Linked DNA regions of Homo sapiens: regions 1, 3 and 4 are each linked to region 2. Evidence: promoter capture Hi-C in 16 types of primary human blood cells and fetal thymus (Javierre and others, 2016). All regions are on one chromosome and are shown on one strand. Each heading gives the region's core, a stretch centred on a gene start or on the middle of the fragment in contact. The rest is flanking DNA. Distances are from core to core; before and after follow the strand shown. Region 1 has its middle 4.0 kb from the start of CLTRN. Region 2 holds the start of CTPS2 (CTP synthase 2). Region 3 holds the start of BMX (BMX non-receptor tyrosine kinase). Region 4 overlaps NHS (NHS actin remodeling regulator).

Region 1 (3,949 bases), core at 91-2,590, 1.0 Mb after region 2:
TAAATGACATTTTTAAAGTTTGTGGGGGTGTTTTGCAGCATCCCTGGCCTCTACCCACTAGATGCCAGTAGAATCCTCTCATCTGCCATTCATGATGACTAAAAATGTCACCAGACGTTGCCAAGTGTCTCTGGAGCACAAAATCACCCCCAATTGAAAACCACTGAGTTAAAATAGAACTTACACACAATAGACAAAAATACTTTGTCTCTCCATGTATCTTAACACTGACAATTTAAAGAGAATAAAATTATTTTTGTTGCCTAATTATACTGAAAACATTGTATAAATTATTAATAATACAAACATCTTGATATTGTTTATTATATATAGTATATCCATTTCATTACAATTTAAACAAGGAAGGATGTCATTTATTAAAATTCTACAACATTTAGGAAATCATTGAGTAGAGCCATTTAATTAAGATATTAAAACTTCCAAAGGGGTTTGTGTGTGTGTGTGTGTGTGTGTGTGTGTGTGTGTGTGTGTGTTTTGTTTTTGGTTTTTGTTTTTTTTATTTTTTGAGACAGAGTCTCGCTCTGTCACACAGACTGGAGTGTGGTGGCACAATCATGGCTCACTGCAGCCTCAACCTCCCTGGGCTCAGGTGATCCTCCTGCCTCAGCCTTCCAAGTTGCTGGGACCACAGGTGCATGCCACCAAGCCTGGCTAATTTTTGTACTTTTTGTAGAGAGGGGGTTTCGCCATGTTGTCCAGGCCTGTCTTGAACTCTTGGACTCAAGCAATCTGCTTGCCTCGCCCTCCCAAAGTGCTGGGATTACAGGCATGAGCCACCATGCCCAGCAGCAAAAAGTGTGAAGTTTTAAAATCTTATACAAAGTTTCTATGTTCAATTATTAAAAGTTTTAATTGATTTCTTTTAATGTGTCACAGCCAGATAACATTTCTGAAAATCCAATAAAAATATACAGAATAATGTCACATTTGAGATGGTTTTACAGTTTACTAATTTTAGGAGCTATATATTTACTAAATTTCTGTTTTTGATAATGAAACAAAATAACCAGGGTCAATTTTAAAAGAAACATTGGTCATCTCCACCTCTTGCTTTATTGGAGGTGAATGGAGCCTACATACGCCCACGTATTTATACGAATCTAGTGAACTTAAGGGATCTTGCATGAATCAAAAGAACGACACATGTGTTTTCTTTTCATGTGATCTCATATTCTGTTTACCCCAGAGCAGTAGATCCATAGTTATGTGCCCAGAAAGTGCTTTTCAAGAGTGTTGTGGAGTATAAAAAACACGGAGAAATCAATTTCGTTTTCCCATCTCAGGAGACTCAGTGCCCTTTTGTGTGGCTCATGGCAACAGTAATCTGAACTTTTAAATCTACATGCTCTAAACTCTGAACGTTTGGAAGTAAATAGTAACATATTCAGAATGATTGAACTGCTTTATTTGTCATCATTACCATGGTTACTAATAAGTTATGAAGCTCCCATATGTGAAATTGCTGAAATGAGCATTTTATGAAGCAATTTATACAGATATGAAGGCTCTGGAAACTTACTACTTAAAACTTGTACATCAAGACAAGCACTAAATTTGTGCAAGACTTTGAAAAGTATAGGAAAATATAATATGCTGAGAGGCAAGAACCCTAGTATCTAGTTCTGTTTTCCATTTATTTTACTGAGATCTCCATCAAACTATTTAACAATGAATTTGTTACAGTATGTAACCAATATAAATAAGATTTATGAATCAAAAAACAGAAAGAATTGCAAATTATGTCCAAGATCTTCTTCTTTGATTAAACAACAAAGATAATATAATCAAAATGAGAAAATTAATACACGTATTAGAAAATATAAAGAGAACATAACAACAAAAGTAGATATTTTATGGGAAATACTCTATAAAGTCCATGAGGATACTAGAAAATCTTAACAGAATATTTTCTTGGAAATTGTAAACAGCCAAAATGGATTCAGAAAGAGGTATAAAACCTGAAATAAATGATAATGTAAGGAATGAAAAATTTTGAAGAACTCTTCCTCTAAAATGCACATGGTCCAGATTCTTCATCTGTGAACTCTTTATTTCTGGTACATTATATGTATTTCTAAACATAGACAATGTTAGAAATCTTTCTGTATCATTTTCAAGATGGTAAAGGCTAGGAAAAAAAACGCTTCAAGAATCAGCACTTGAAAAGGAACCTACCTGATATTCTTTTAAGAAAATAGGTTTAAAAATCATAGGGGAAAAACCAGGAATTGATTCCAGCAGCATACTAAAAATAAATTAAAAAAATGTTTTATCTAAGAATTGAATCAATGTGAAAAATGTATTAATGTAATACACCAAATGGTAAAAATTTTAATAGTGAAAAGCAGTTGATAAAATGCAACACCAATTACTGAGGAAAATAATTTTTTGTAATTACAAATATAATGCTCGTATCACATGACACATCATTTTTAAAGCCACTTGCCAGATTCCGTGCAGTAGTGGCATTCCTATTAGAGTAAAGAAGAAGACAAGGGTGCGTCTTATTCCCATCATTGTATTACTCTGTTCTGATAGTGCCACTGCAGTGAGAAAAAACAACATCCTACAAGAACATATAAAGAGATCCAAGGCTAAGGAAGGCGCATTCTAACTATGAAAATATATTAGCATTGGTCATCCATTCTGGTAGTATTATGGATGTTTTCTACTTTTTTTTGCTTCTCTATATTGTCTATACAGAATTTCTATTGCTTTTTTCAATCATTTTAAAAATGAGAACACAAATATTGAGAAATCATAATGAAATAAGAGATTGTCTTCCCTTTTCAGATGAATGGCTTACACTGACTGAAACTCAATATTTTACTGTCTTCAATTCTAGTTACATAGATGACTAAAAGCTTATGAAGAAATTTGTCACTTTTAAGAAATGCAAGACTAAAGGAACCTGAAGAAGAATTCTGTGTTTCTACTCTGGGAGCTGAGGCAGGAGGGTTGCTTGAGCCCAGGAGGTTGAGGCTGCACTGAGCTAAGATGGTGCCACTGCACTCCAGCCTGGGCATCAGAGCAAGATCCTGTCTCTATTAAAAAAAAACAACAAACAACAACAAAACACAGTTAAGTTCAACAAAGATGACAAAGCTGCATAATAGCATGACCCCAGTTTTGTTTTTAAGAAGAAATGTACATGTATTTACACAAAAAAGAAAGCACAAGGCAGAAAGATATGTTCCAAATATTTAGAAAACATTGACAATTGGTCATTCGTTGACGCTGATGGAATTACAGGTGATTTTTACTTTTCTCCTTGTGCTGCTTTGTATTTTCTAAAAAGAATTTCTATTGCTCTTTTTGAAAAGATGATACAACAAACATTGAGAAACCATCATTCAAAAGAGATTGTCTTCTCAAATGAATGACTTACACTAAGACTCAGTGTTCTATTGTCTTCAACCCGAGTTACATCAATGACTAAGTAAAAGCCAAAGAAAGCCACTTGATACTTTTATGAAGTGTAAGGCTAAAGGAAAGCTGAAGCAGATTTCTTATTTATTTATTTATTTATTTATTTATTTATTTTTGAGATGGAGTCTCGCTCTGTTGCCCCGGCTGGAGTGCAGTGGCACGATCTCGGCTCACTGCAAGCTCCGCCTCCCGGGTTCAAGCAATTCTCCTGCCTCAGCCTCCCGAGTAGCTGGGACTACAGGCACCTGCCACCACGCCCGGCTAATTATTTGTACTTTTAGTAGAGATGGGGTTTCACCATCTTGGCCAGGCTGGTCTTGAACTCCTGACCTCATGATCCACCTGCCTCGGCCTCCGAAAGTGCTGGGATTACAGGTGTGAGGCACTGTGCCCAGCCGCTGAAGCAGATTTCTATGTTCTTAGCATAGCTTTCTTCCTTGATGTAAGTAAAATGCTTTGTTACAATCTCTATGTGTATTGACTTTTCCTTCCCATGATG
Region 2 (4,110 bases), core at 1,343-3,842:
CCCCCAAGGCTACCCTGCTGAGTGAAGCGTCTGCTTATTTTCCCAGAAATTGACATCATTGTTCCAAGTTCCTTACTGCTTCCTCCACAACACTGTTCTTTCATCCTTGGTGGGGAGAAACTCCATTGTGTTTATTTTATTTTATTTTTTGAGATGGAGTTTCGCTCTTGTCGCCCAGGCTGGAGTGCAATGGCGCGATCTGGGCTCACTGCAACCTCCACCTCCCGGGTTCAAGAGATTCTCCTGCTTCAGCCTCCTGAGTAGCTGGGACTACAGGCACCCGCCACCGCGGCCGGCTAATTTTTTGTATTTTTAGCAGAGACGGGGTTTCACCGTGTTAACCAGGATGGTCTCGATCTCCTGATCTCGTGATCCACCCACCTCGGCCTCCCAAAGTGCTGGGATTACAGGGGTGAGCCACCATGCCTGGTCGTGTTTATTTTTTTAAATTAATTAATTGATTTTTTTTTTGAGACAAGGTCTCAGTCTGTCGTCCAGGCTGGAGTGCAGTGGCACGGTCATAGCTCATTGCAGCCTTGACCTCCTGGGCTCAGGCGACCTTCCTGCTTCAGCCTCCCCTGGGATGCATGCCAGCACACGTGATAATTTTTGTATTTTTTGTAGAGACAGGATTTTGCCATGTTGTCCAGGTAAGTCACCAACTCCTGGACTCAAACTATCTGCCTGCCTCAGCCTCTCAAAGTGCTGGGATTACAGGGGTGTGCCATGGCGCCAGGCCTCCATTGTGTCTTGAAAGGCACTGACATTTGTTCTGCAACCTTCTCCCTTTCCTTGTCACAGTCATCTATTAGTTTCAGGCTCACTACCCACCCCGCAACCCCAATTCTCTAAAGTTCCTTGACCTCGATTGACTCCTCCACCTCCTGCCATCCTTTTGGGACCCTCGATGTCCAACATACCAGCCTTGTGGGCACTAAACCCAAGGCCAGTGATGCCCATCTCACTTTTCTATTCCATTGTAGCTGCCACACCCCAAACTGTCTCATTTCCTGGAATATCCATTTGAAGGCCTGAACTCCAGCACCACACTCTCTGCTGCCAGTTTGCCAGTCCTCTCCTCAGAGGCCCTGGCCTTGGAGCCCTTCTCTCATCTGTCTCCCAGTCCATCAGCTCCCCGCTGGTTTTATTAACAGTTCCTGTCCTCTAGGACTAGAGCTCTGGCCCATCACTGCAATCGCAGTCTTTCTGTGCCCTCCACCTCCTCACCCTCTTGTCCTTCTATTCTATGCAAGCAGGAAACTTGGGTTTCATAACTAAGAGCTATATTTCTGTAGATACCTTGCCAGATTATAGCAGATTATAGCTGGACACCACTACACGATGATGGTTTCTAAACTCCACTAGGTCTTCAGTGACTCTTGTCTAACTTGTCGCTCTAGCATCTCACACTGGTTATGCGAAATTTCCACCACTTTCCTAAAACCTTCCATCTCACTTCAGACCCTTCTGTTGTCCATGTTAGCTTCCTTCAGTGGTTGGCTTCTTGCCTTCACCCGAAAAACCTCCTGTATCCGTTCCCAGCACCAATCATCCTCCAATACTCTTTTTTTTTTTTTTTTTTGAGACAAAGTCTCCTCTGTCACCCAGGCTGGAGTGCAGTGGCCTGATCTCGGCTCACTGCAACCTCTGCCTCCCAGGTTCAAGCGATTCTCTCTGCCTCAGCCTTCGGAGTAGGTGGGATTACAGGCAGGTGCCACCACACCTGGCTAATTTTGCATTTTTAGTAGAGACAGGGTTACACCACGTTGGCCAGGCTGGTCTCGAACTCCCGACCTCAGGTGATCCGCCTGCCTTGGCCTCCCAAAGTGCTGGGATTACAGGCGTGAGTCACCCGAAGAGTGACTTTTTAGAGTATTTGGGCGGGGTGCAGTGGCTCAAGCCTGTAATCCCAGCATTTTGGGAGGCAAGGCAGGAGGATCAGCTGAGGTCGGGAGTTCGAGACCAGCCTGGCCAACGTGATGTAACCCCGTTTCTGTTAAAAATGCAAAATTAGCCGAGCTTTTTGGCATCCGCCTGTAATCCCAGCTACTCCGGGGGCTGAGGCAGGGACAATCGCTTGAACCCGGGAGGCGGAGGTTGCAGTGAGCCCAGATCGCGCCATTGCACTCCAGCCTGGGCAAAAAGGGCGAACGAAACTCCGTCTCAAAAAAAAAAAAAAAAAAAAAGTCACTCTTGGAAGCCTTAATTGCCTTCCTCCCCTCACTGCACCCCCGCAACTCTTTGCTGCAGAAGTATTGTTCTAGGGAACCTTACTGGTTCCAACAGACGGGTGGACCTCCCACCAGACTGTGAGCTAGCTCCTCAAAGGCAGGCATTCTCTTTCCTTTTCCTTCTCTCCTGAGCGCTCCTGCAGTTCCTGGGGCGTAGTAGGGGATCCACAAGCGTTTGTGACCAGTGAAGTTCTTTACAAGGGTGAGATCTGCACGGGAGGACCCGAGCGAGGGTCTCGGCTTGCCAGGAAGCCGGGGTTCCCCGGGAAGCGTGGAGTTCACCCGCGCACTCGAAGTGCCTTTGCAAAGTGAGCCACGGGAGGGAGGAGCGGTCCCCGGGCTGGGCGAGGCCTGGGGCCCAGTGCGTCCAGAGCGGAGGGTGACGGGAGCTGCCTGTGCTGGAGGAATCACTTTTTAGGCGCTTGTTTTGGACCATTGCACAAACCCGGGTGCAAACCCCAAGCTCACCAGCGTGAGTGAGCTGGGCCAGCAGCAGGGAGGAGAGGGGAAGGTGGGCGAGGAGGGCGCCGCGCACCCCGAGGCCCGTGTGGGCGGTGGGAAGATCCCGGGGGCGGCTTTGGACAGCCCCGGCAGCGACCCCTTCCCCAGCCCGACAGGTGAGCGCCAGGCCAGCCGCGGGGTGGAGCCCGCCGTGCCCACCGGCCACCCTCCCCGGTGCTACCACCACCGCGCAGGTAACTTCCCTTCTGGGCCTGTCCCAGACCCCCAGGGCCTCGGCGCCCGGGCCATCCCTCGTCCCCAGGGCCTCTCCGCCCTGCACCCCCAGCCCCGGTGCACTTGTGGGGCCGGGCTCCTTTGTCCGCTCTCTGATGGCGCCGGCTCCCTGCCCAGCGCTGAGTCGGGTCCGGCCGCCAGCCCCGCGCTCGCAGACCTCGGCTGCCGGGTGTGGCGCGGGGACTGGGGAACGCTGGCCCGTGCCCAGTGCGGTTGGAGCCTGTCCCGCGCGTCCCCGGGACGCGCTTCTTCCCGCCTCCGCCCGCGCCAGCGCCCGCACCCGGATCCCCACTTCTCCCGGCCCTCGGGAGCCAGGAGAGCCCTGAGATGGCGTTGGCGGAAGTGAAGCCCCGAGCGGGGGTCTGCGAGGCTGGTGATCAGCGCCGGTAACATGGCCTTTCTGTCCTCTCCCCGGTCCCAGTGCACCCCTTAAACAACGACCCCCGCGTTTTCCCCGTACTAGATGGTTAGGGCGCATAGTGCCGAACTACGCTGCTGCTACAGAATAGCTTTTTTGGGGGCAACATAAAAAAGAATTGTATGTATGGTTTATATACAACAAAATGTCCCATTTTCAGTGTGCAAATCGACGGGATTTGACAAATTATACACTCCTGTAACCATTATCCCAAAGTGAACATTGACCATTTCCTTCACCCTGCAAAGTTCCCTGGTACCTCCTTTCTGTCAATCCACCCCAGGCCCCGCACTCAACCCCGGTTCTGATTGTTATCATAGCTTAGCTTTGACTGTTCTAGAACTTCATAGAACAAGATCATCAGGTAAGTACTCTTTTGTGTCTAACATTACTTTTTAAATGGCCATCACTGAGAAGGTGTCTCTGGGTGCTTCCGGTGCTTTTATTTGCTCTAGGCCTGCCTGGTCTAATGTGGGAGCCACTGGTCACATGTGGTTATTGAATACTGGAAATGTGGCAAAATCCGTACTGAGATGTGCTCTGAGTACAGGCACCTGATTTCTGAAAGCTTAGTACACAAAAAAGATGTCAAATATCTCACTAATACATTCTTACATTGTGCGTTAAAAGTGATAACATTTTTGGCTACATTGGGTTAAATAACATATATTAACATGAACTTCATTTGATTCTTTTTACTTTTTTAATATGGCTACTAGAAACTTA
Region 3 (3,877 bases), core at 1,010-3,509, 1.2 Mb after region 2:
GAGAGTGATTTTATGATAATGATCCTAGCCAATGCTTAAGGAGGGCTCACTATGTGCCAGGCTGTTTAGAGTTTACTGGTCACAACTGCTCTATGGGGTAGCTCATGACACCTCCACCTTATGGGGTAGGCCAGAACACCCCCACCCTATGGGATATTTTGTGATACTCCCAGCCCATGGGATAGGTTGTGACACATTCACCCTATAGAGTAAGTTGTAACATCATTCCCTGCTTATAGCTTATGGAGCTGCAATAGATAAATAAATTGCCCAGGTCACACTGCTAGTGGGTGGAGCTAGATTTGAATCCCGGCAGTCTAACTCCACATCCCATATTCGTGACCACGCTACTAATGCTAGAGAAGGACATGCCTGCTGTGTGACCCTCCTAAACCAGAGACTGCTCTAACCTAAATACAGGAAGGCAGTCATAGGATGTCAAATCTTATAAGAAACCTAGAAGTCATTTTACAGATGTAACACTGAGCCCCAGCAGCCTAAGTGACTTAGCCAGTACTGTTAACCAGTGACCTAAGAGGCATGGCCCTGGGAGCCAGCTTCAGGTGTCATACCTGTACACCATCCACTCCATGATGGCAGTAAACAGAGTAGGAGATATCTGTGTGTTCAGCCAAACATACTACAGCTTTGCTAAGGGACATAGTTTGGTGAAACTACCCATAAATCTGAGTCTTAACAGACCAGTGCAAGAGACATTTTATTGGAAATATCAGAAAGATGTTACCTATAATCTTTCGATAGGAATCTCCTGCTGAAAGGCAGTGTTAAATAGCAAAATTTGAAACCACATTCTGAAAATAGGTAAGAACATACAACCTCAAAAGTTGGAATAAATTCTCAGTGGTACAGAAGGGGAGCAGGAAACAGGATACCAAGGGAGACAGGGTTATCTAGTTAAGTGGCCATTGGATAGTTCCCTCAACCAGGAAGTGTATTCCCTGACTGGCTCAGGGTGGTGTCTTTAAAGATTTATCTTTTAAAATTCAGAGATAAGGATAGCAATTCCTTACCCTTTGACTTGGTTTAGTTATCCTCTCTTACTTTACATGCCATATAGCTAAAGATTTTGTAGGTGTCAAGATGTTAAAATAATACATGTGGTGGGAGGGCAGTAGAGCAGGAAGGGTGGGAAAGAAAGGGAAGACGCTCCAAGTGGGGTGGGATCTGGAAGGGAAACTGGAGGGCCCTGTGACAAACTTGATCTTCAAATATTTGTCCAAATGCCAGGCCCGCTTATCTTCGTGCTAAATAACTGAACAAAATGTGATGGTAGGTTTAAACAAGAACAAAAAGTTTGACTGAGGATCAAGTAAAGTGGTTCAAAAAGTCTTAGGATGCTGGCCAAAGACAAATACTGGCTTCACAGAACCTGACAGATCCTTATTTCACATGATGTTATGCAGGAGAGGGAAAGTTAAAGTTGATCTTGGCATGATATGGACAGAAATCTTTTAACATTGACAGTCAAATTCTCAGCATCTTGGAGCATCATACCTTAATTGATCCAAAATAAGTGTATAAAAACCAGACACTTTGGGAAGATCATTTTCTCACAAAGAAGGCAAGAATCTTAATGCTAGTCTTTTTGGAGCTAAGTTTTGCTTTAGGTGTGAGATTAATCTTCAGTGCCCCATAGAGCTTTTCTAAGTCTTTTCTTCTTTTCAGTAACCTCTTTCTTTCTGCTCCCTCTCCTCTGCTTAGGGCACTCTCTCTGGGCAACTTCCTTAGGAGAAAAGCAAAAAGTAATAAATCCATGAGCTAGCATCTCATGCTGAATTAAACATGTAACACTGCTTTCATGATGCCGGTTAGTGCAAGTGAAAGCACCGAGCTGGGTTCGAATCCCTGCTCTGTCTCTATGGAATCTGTCATGTTACTTAACCCAGCTAAACCTCAGCTTCCCCATCTGTAAAGGCAGTGAAACAATAACCACTTCGAAGGGTTACAAGTAGTCAAGAGAAAATGGCAGCCTAATGCCCAACACCCTAGTAGATATTCTAAAAGCTTATGTCCCTTCTGATCACTCCATAGGCAAAGTTTTAAAAAGGACCATAAAAAGTTAAAAAACTAAAGACAGTGAAATAATAATGATCCTTAATGATAAAATTTTACTTCTCATCCCTCTGTCCCCAGCTCCTGGGTATAGGAGAAAATGGGAGGCAGGAAGACCTCCTCATGTATTGCCATGTCAACAAACACCAGTCCATACATAGTAGGTTTGTCGCAGACTTTCCATCCTGAGACGAGTTACCATAAAATGAGGTTGAACCATACCCTTATTGACTGTGTATTTGTGCCACCATATTTCCTACAAATAAATACTTGGATGTGACTCAAAGTGTGGTCCGTGCACTTGCATCATCCGGGCGATCATTAGACATGCAGACTCTCAGTTCCCACCCGAGACCTCGCGCAGCCAAATCTTCATTTTAGCAAGATCCCCAGGTGATCCACGTGCACAGGAAAGCTTGAGAAGCACTTACATGGACCACAAAGTTGCACTCCTTTTCAAATCCAATGAAATCATTGTGGCCCACAAAATCTTTCAAAATTATATGGATATGAGTACAACTGCATGGTTCACCTCCCTCCCACCTGTCTATCTCCATCTAAAATACACAAAGCACTTGATTTAGGGAGACCTCAGGAACCTAAGAGCAAATATTTGTAGCTAAAGTAACATCATAAAAACACAGTTAAAGAAGGTATAAGGAACATTTCTATGTCTCTTTGGAAGCAGTTATGAGGCCAATATGAAAGGCTATGGAAAGGCAATACCTAAAGAAGCGGATGGAGAAAATTAGCAGAGAATACACACAAAGCTAGGTAGAACTGGTGGTGATACATAAACAACCTGAGAGCTTCCCTAACTGAGATTTTGAGCAAGGAGTGAATTTACAGTGAAATTATAGCAGTTTCAGCCGTTGGCCTCCAAATTACCTGGTCCCATCTAAAGTCCCAGAGAAAGCCCTGGCAATTTCATATTAAAAATGTTGTACTATTTTTCTTAAAGTGAGCTTCCCAAAGTTTGTAACTTCAGGCCCCACAACACCGGGAACCAAACCTATTTTCCGCATAGTATGCGACACTGAGTAGCCACCTGCCGCTTAAACGCACCGTCTCAGCTTGTTCCGTGCTTGCCTGGGTCCGCCGCGGTGCTTGGTCTGCTGTTGCAGGAACACGGCCCCGGCTGTCCTGTTTCCAGAAGCAAATTGTTTCACATTTTCCTGGCTGCCGGGTCAGAAATGGCTACATTACTCAGTGCCCCCAACACGTTTATTGTCCTACAGAGCCTTACACAATCCCACAGGAAACCACGCTCAACACTTAGCCAACACTTGTTGATCTGATTGAACGCAACAAAAACGGAGACAAAAGCATACTTCATAAAGTTTCCAATTTTGATAACTATAGCTCCCACTTTTCCCAGGCAGCTCTCGGGTACATGTGATAACCCTGCCTTTGTTTGTAGAGCTCTATGCTGGAAAGGACAAGAAAATATCTCGGCAAAACCCGACTGCTGACGCTGACTTCTCTCACATGAGCCAGGAAACCATTAGGTAATGCAAAGTGCACAGAGAATATGCAATGAAAACTTCAACTCAACATTTGGACAAAGGAAGGCCAGAGAATATGTAAGAACAGTTCATATGATGGAAAAGGAGCTTATTTATATAGTTTAAGTTATTAAGAAATCCAGAAATGGAAAATAGATTGTTTTTGCTAAGGTATGGTACACCTAGATCGCAATGAAAAAGTGTGTCACTTGACATCATTATGACAGACTCACAACTTTTGGCTTCCCCCATTCCACTATTTTCTCTGGTGCATACCGGCTGGCCATCTGTAATAAATC
Region 4 (2,834 bases), core at 321-2,820, 1.0 Mb before region 2:
TTAAAAAATGAAAAAATTTCCCCTACACAACATAGATACGTTGTATAAACATAAAAGAACAAAAAATCGCATCAGTGCAAACAACAGAAGAAAAGTTCGGATTGATGTTCTTCACAATACCTAACGTGTGTACCCTGCTTCAAGACGGCAGTGATGTTAAAGACAGCCCTAAATCTTGGTCTTGTTTGCTATGTAATCAAGCCATGTAGAATATTCCAGATTATTAGGGAACTTCCTGCTTTTTCTTCTCAGTTTGTAACTCAATACTCTTTTCCACAGTGAATTTTAAATCCATCTTTATTTGGGTTTTTTAAATCTATGAAATATAAAATAGAGAAACTCTGCTATAGATTTTTAGAGTAAACAAAATAAGTAAAACTATATTATAAGGGTTAGTTCTGTGATCATTACATATAGAAGGTATCTTATTGCCTCACAATTCAAGTCAATATGTATTTTAAAAAATATATGGTACCATTACTTAATGTCAATAATAAAAAGGTGACATTTTTATTAAAGCCAATTCATGTGTTTTCTATTCAAGATTTAGAATCACTTTTAAAGCCCACATACCTTTCTTCACACTTAAAAAACCCCTAACTACACAAAAGCCATACTGCAAACGAACTGCTTTTATGAAATTACGAAAGATCGCCTACTGTGACTGGAAATGACGGTTTCTTATCGCATTTGCCTAAAAACTTTATTTTTAAAACTTTGCAAGGTGTACTTTTCAAATCATGAGACAGATTTATTCATGTTCCCATGTGGTGTCAAACCATGCTGGTTTTCTTAATTAATGGGTTCCAATGAGAAATGGTGGTCCATTTTATTCAAACCCCAAAATATTTTTCTTTTAAGAAAAAGTGTGACATTTTGTAAATGTTCAAACCCTTTACCAGGTAGCTTATCTATCCCCAGTGTGTGTGCGTACACACACACTCACACTCACACACACCCATACACACTCTCTCTGACTCTCCCTCCTCTTATACCCCTCCACCCCCAGCACCCATTTTACATACAAGGATGACAAGAAATTTAGTAACACAGTTTGGTAGTGAAAACAAATAGTAGAAGAAGCCAGACATTTTTTTTCTTTCCAAACAAACAAAACAACAGCAATCAGATTATCTATTCTTAATCTGTAGCAGTTTAGAAATCATTTCTATTGAAAGACAGTATCTTCTTAGACCAGGCTTCCTCCTTCATTTTGCATGAATTAATCCAAAATGCAAACCCTCTTCCACACCTCCTACTTTCCCAACTACCACTTGCATAAGCTTAAAGCCAGCAGCTTGTCAATTTCTTGGTAACATTGGTATGTTCTATCACTCTAATCACATTCTAGTCTTTTATAAGTCAGATCCCTTCTTAATTCTCTCTCTGTTCTACCTCTCCCATTCAAAACCTATTCTAAGTACATAGCTGCTTATATTTCTGACATAAGATTCCAAACATTAGTATAAGTTCATGTTAAAATCAGAGGTGTAAAAACCATTTGCAGATTTTAACGTGTAACTACATTTTTTTTTCAGTTTTAAGACAAGAAAATTCAAGTAATTTCAAGTAATTCAGCTTGTTTCCCTGCCTTTATTTTATCAGAGCACATGCCCTGACATTTCCTCTCCCACCCTCCACCCTCCCCTTTTGCCATCAAGCAGACACTATAGTAAAACCAGACAAAAACTCAGTTGTATGTAGTATTGTGAACCAGAGCTGTTCCCCATTCCCAGTTTAACAATGAGTATAAATAATGCATATACACATACCTATTTTCCAACTACATTGTTCACAGTGTCATTTCTGTTAATTTTTAGGTAGCATGAATCTCATCAGCACAGAGAGAAAGCTTCACTGAAAACTCATTACAGGTACTTACTGATTAATCAATAGCTCTGTGGCATGCTTAGGTTTTATTTTTGTTAGTTTAAGAACCTGGAGCTAATTTCTAAACTGTTTAAGGAGTTTAATGATTACAGTCATTAGTTATGACCGTTTATGTCCCCAGTAGCCTAATATAAAACATAACCTAAAATTAACTACTATTTTCCCTACTCATTCTCTTTAAAGCAATCCATTGAAAAAATTAAAATCTAAAGGACACTGTCAAATGCTGTTGTTCAGGGCTTTGTGTTGAGAATGATGACTTCTCTCACTGATTAAAAAAAAAATCAAAAGCATGCTTTTCATTCTGTCCAAATTACCACACAACAAATCACAGCCATGGGTTGCTATTAGTTTGTTTGGTGCTGCAATTTGTCATAAAAATGATTAGATCTGAATTCATTATTTTAATTTATTCATATTTCAGTATATGACCTCAAGATTTCCTTTAGTTCACCAGTTTAAAATTCATATTTGAGGTTTACCACTCAGAAATCATATTGGTGGACATTTAAATATGGCATTTGATATGAAAATGGTATTCACAGAATACAGTTATTACATTTTATTTTTGTGTATTCTATAAACAGTTGGTGTGCAGTAGATAATTGACCACATGTCCACTCATCATTGATAAATCTATTTACACATTTTTATCAAAAATATGGTATTTACATATGTGTAGTTCTTTCTTCTAAATTTTGCTTTAGTTTGTTTTAATGTAAAAAAATACCAAACATCCAGAGTAATTTCATCTTCTTAAAGAATAATGACAGTGAGGGCTTTAGTTTCTGAATAGGCAGCTCTGGGAAAACGTTTTCTAGGTGTCATGAAAATTAGACAATTTTGTATCCTCTATTTTCACAAGGAAGGAGATTGCGTAAATCAAACTATGCTAAAGAAAAACATGAAAGACTGCAGCTACTTAAAATATGGAAACTAATCAA

The links. The method cuts DNA at HindIII sites, captures the fragments that hold promoters and counts their contacts. A CHiCAGO score of 5 or more calls a contact.
Region 1: a fragment that was not itself captured here is called in contact with the fragment with the promoter of CTPS2 in region 2 in 1 of 17 cell types (naive CD4 T cells); the score reaches 5.2 in naive CD4 T cells.
Region 3: a fragment that was not itself captured here is called in contact with the fragment with the promoter of CTPS2 in region 2 in 1 of 17 cell types (total B cells); the score reaches 6.1 in total B cells.
Region 4: a contact is called between a fragment that was not itself captured here and the fragment with the promoter of CTPS2 in region 2, in 1 of 17 cell types (total B cells). The highest score is 5.3, in total B cells.

The regions. Positions count from the first base shown.
Region 1 is chrX:15,666,854-15,670,802 of GRCh38, reverse strand. It overlaps a transcript of CLTRN not described here. Among named protein-coding and RNA genes, the nearest start is that of CLTRN, 4.0 kb to the right of the region's middle. The HindIII fragment of the contact is 3,095 bases long and covers 1-2,887 here.
Region 2 is chrX:16,711,151-16,715,260 of GRCh38, reverse strand. It overlaps CTPS2 (CTP synthase 2), which reads left to right and starts at 2,592. Exons shown (of 19, transcript NM_175859.3): 1 at 2,592-2,926. RefSeq lists silencers at 2,720-2,809, 2,870-3,139. The HindIII fragment of the contact is 10,682 bases long and covers 1-3,954 here.
Region 3 is chrX:15,500,202-15,504,078 of GRCh38, reverse strand. BMX (BMX non-receptor tyrosine kinase) reads right to left here and starts at 3,272. Exons shown (of 19, transcript NM_203281.3): 1 at 3,139-3,272. The HindIII fragment of the contact is 463 bases long and covers 2,028-2,490 here.
Region 4 is chrX:17,732,641-17,735,474 of GRCh38, reverse strand. It overlaps NHS (NHS actin remodeling regulator), which reads right to left. Exons shown (of 9, transcript NM_001291867.2): 9 at 1-2,834. Among named protein-coding and RNA genes, the nearest start is that of SCML1, 3.4 kb to the left of the region's middle. The HindIII fragment of the contact is 569 bases long and covers 1,286-1,854 here.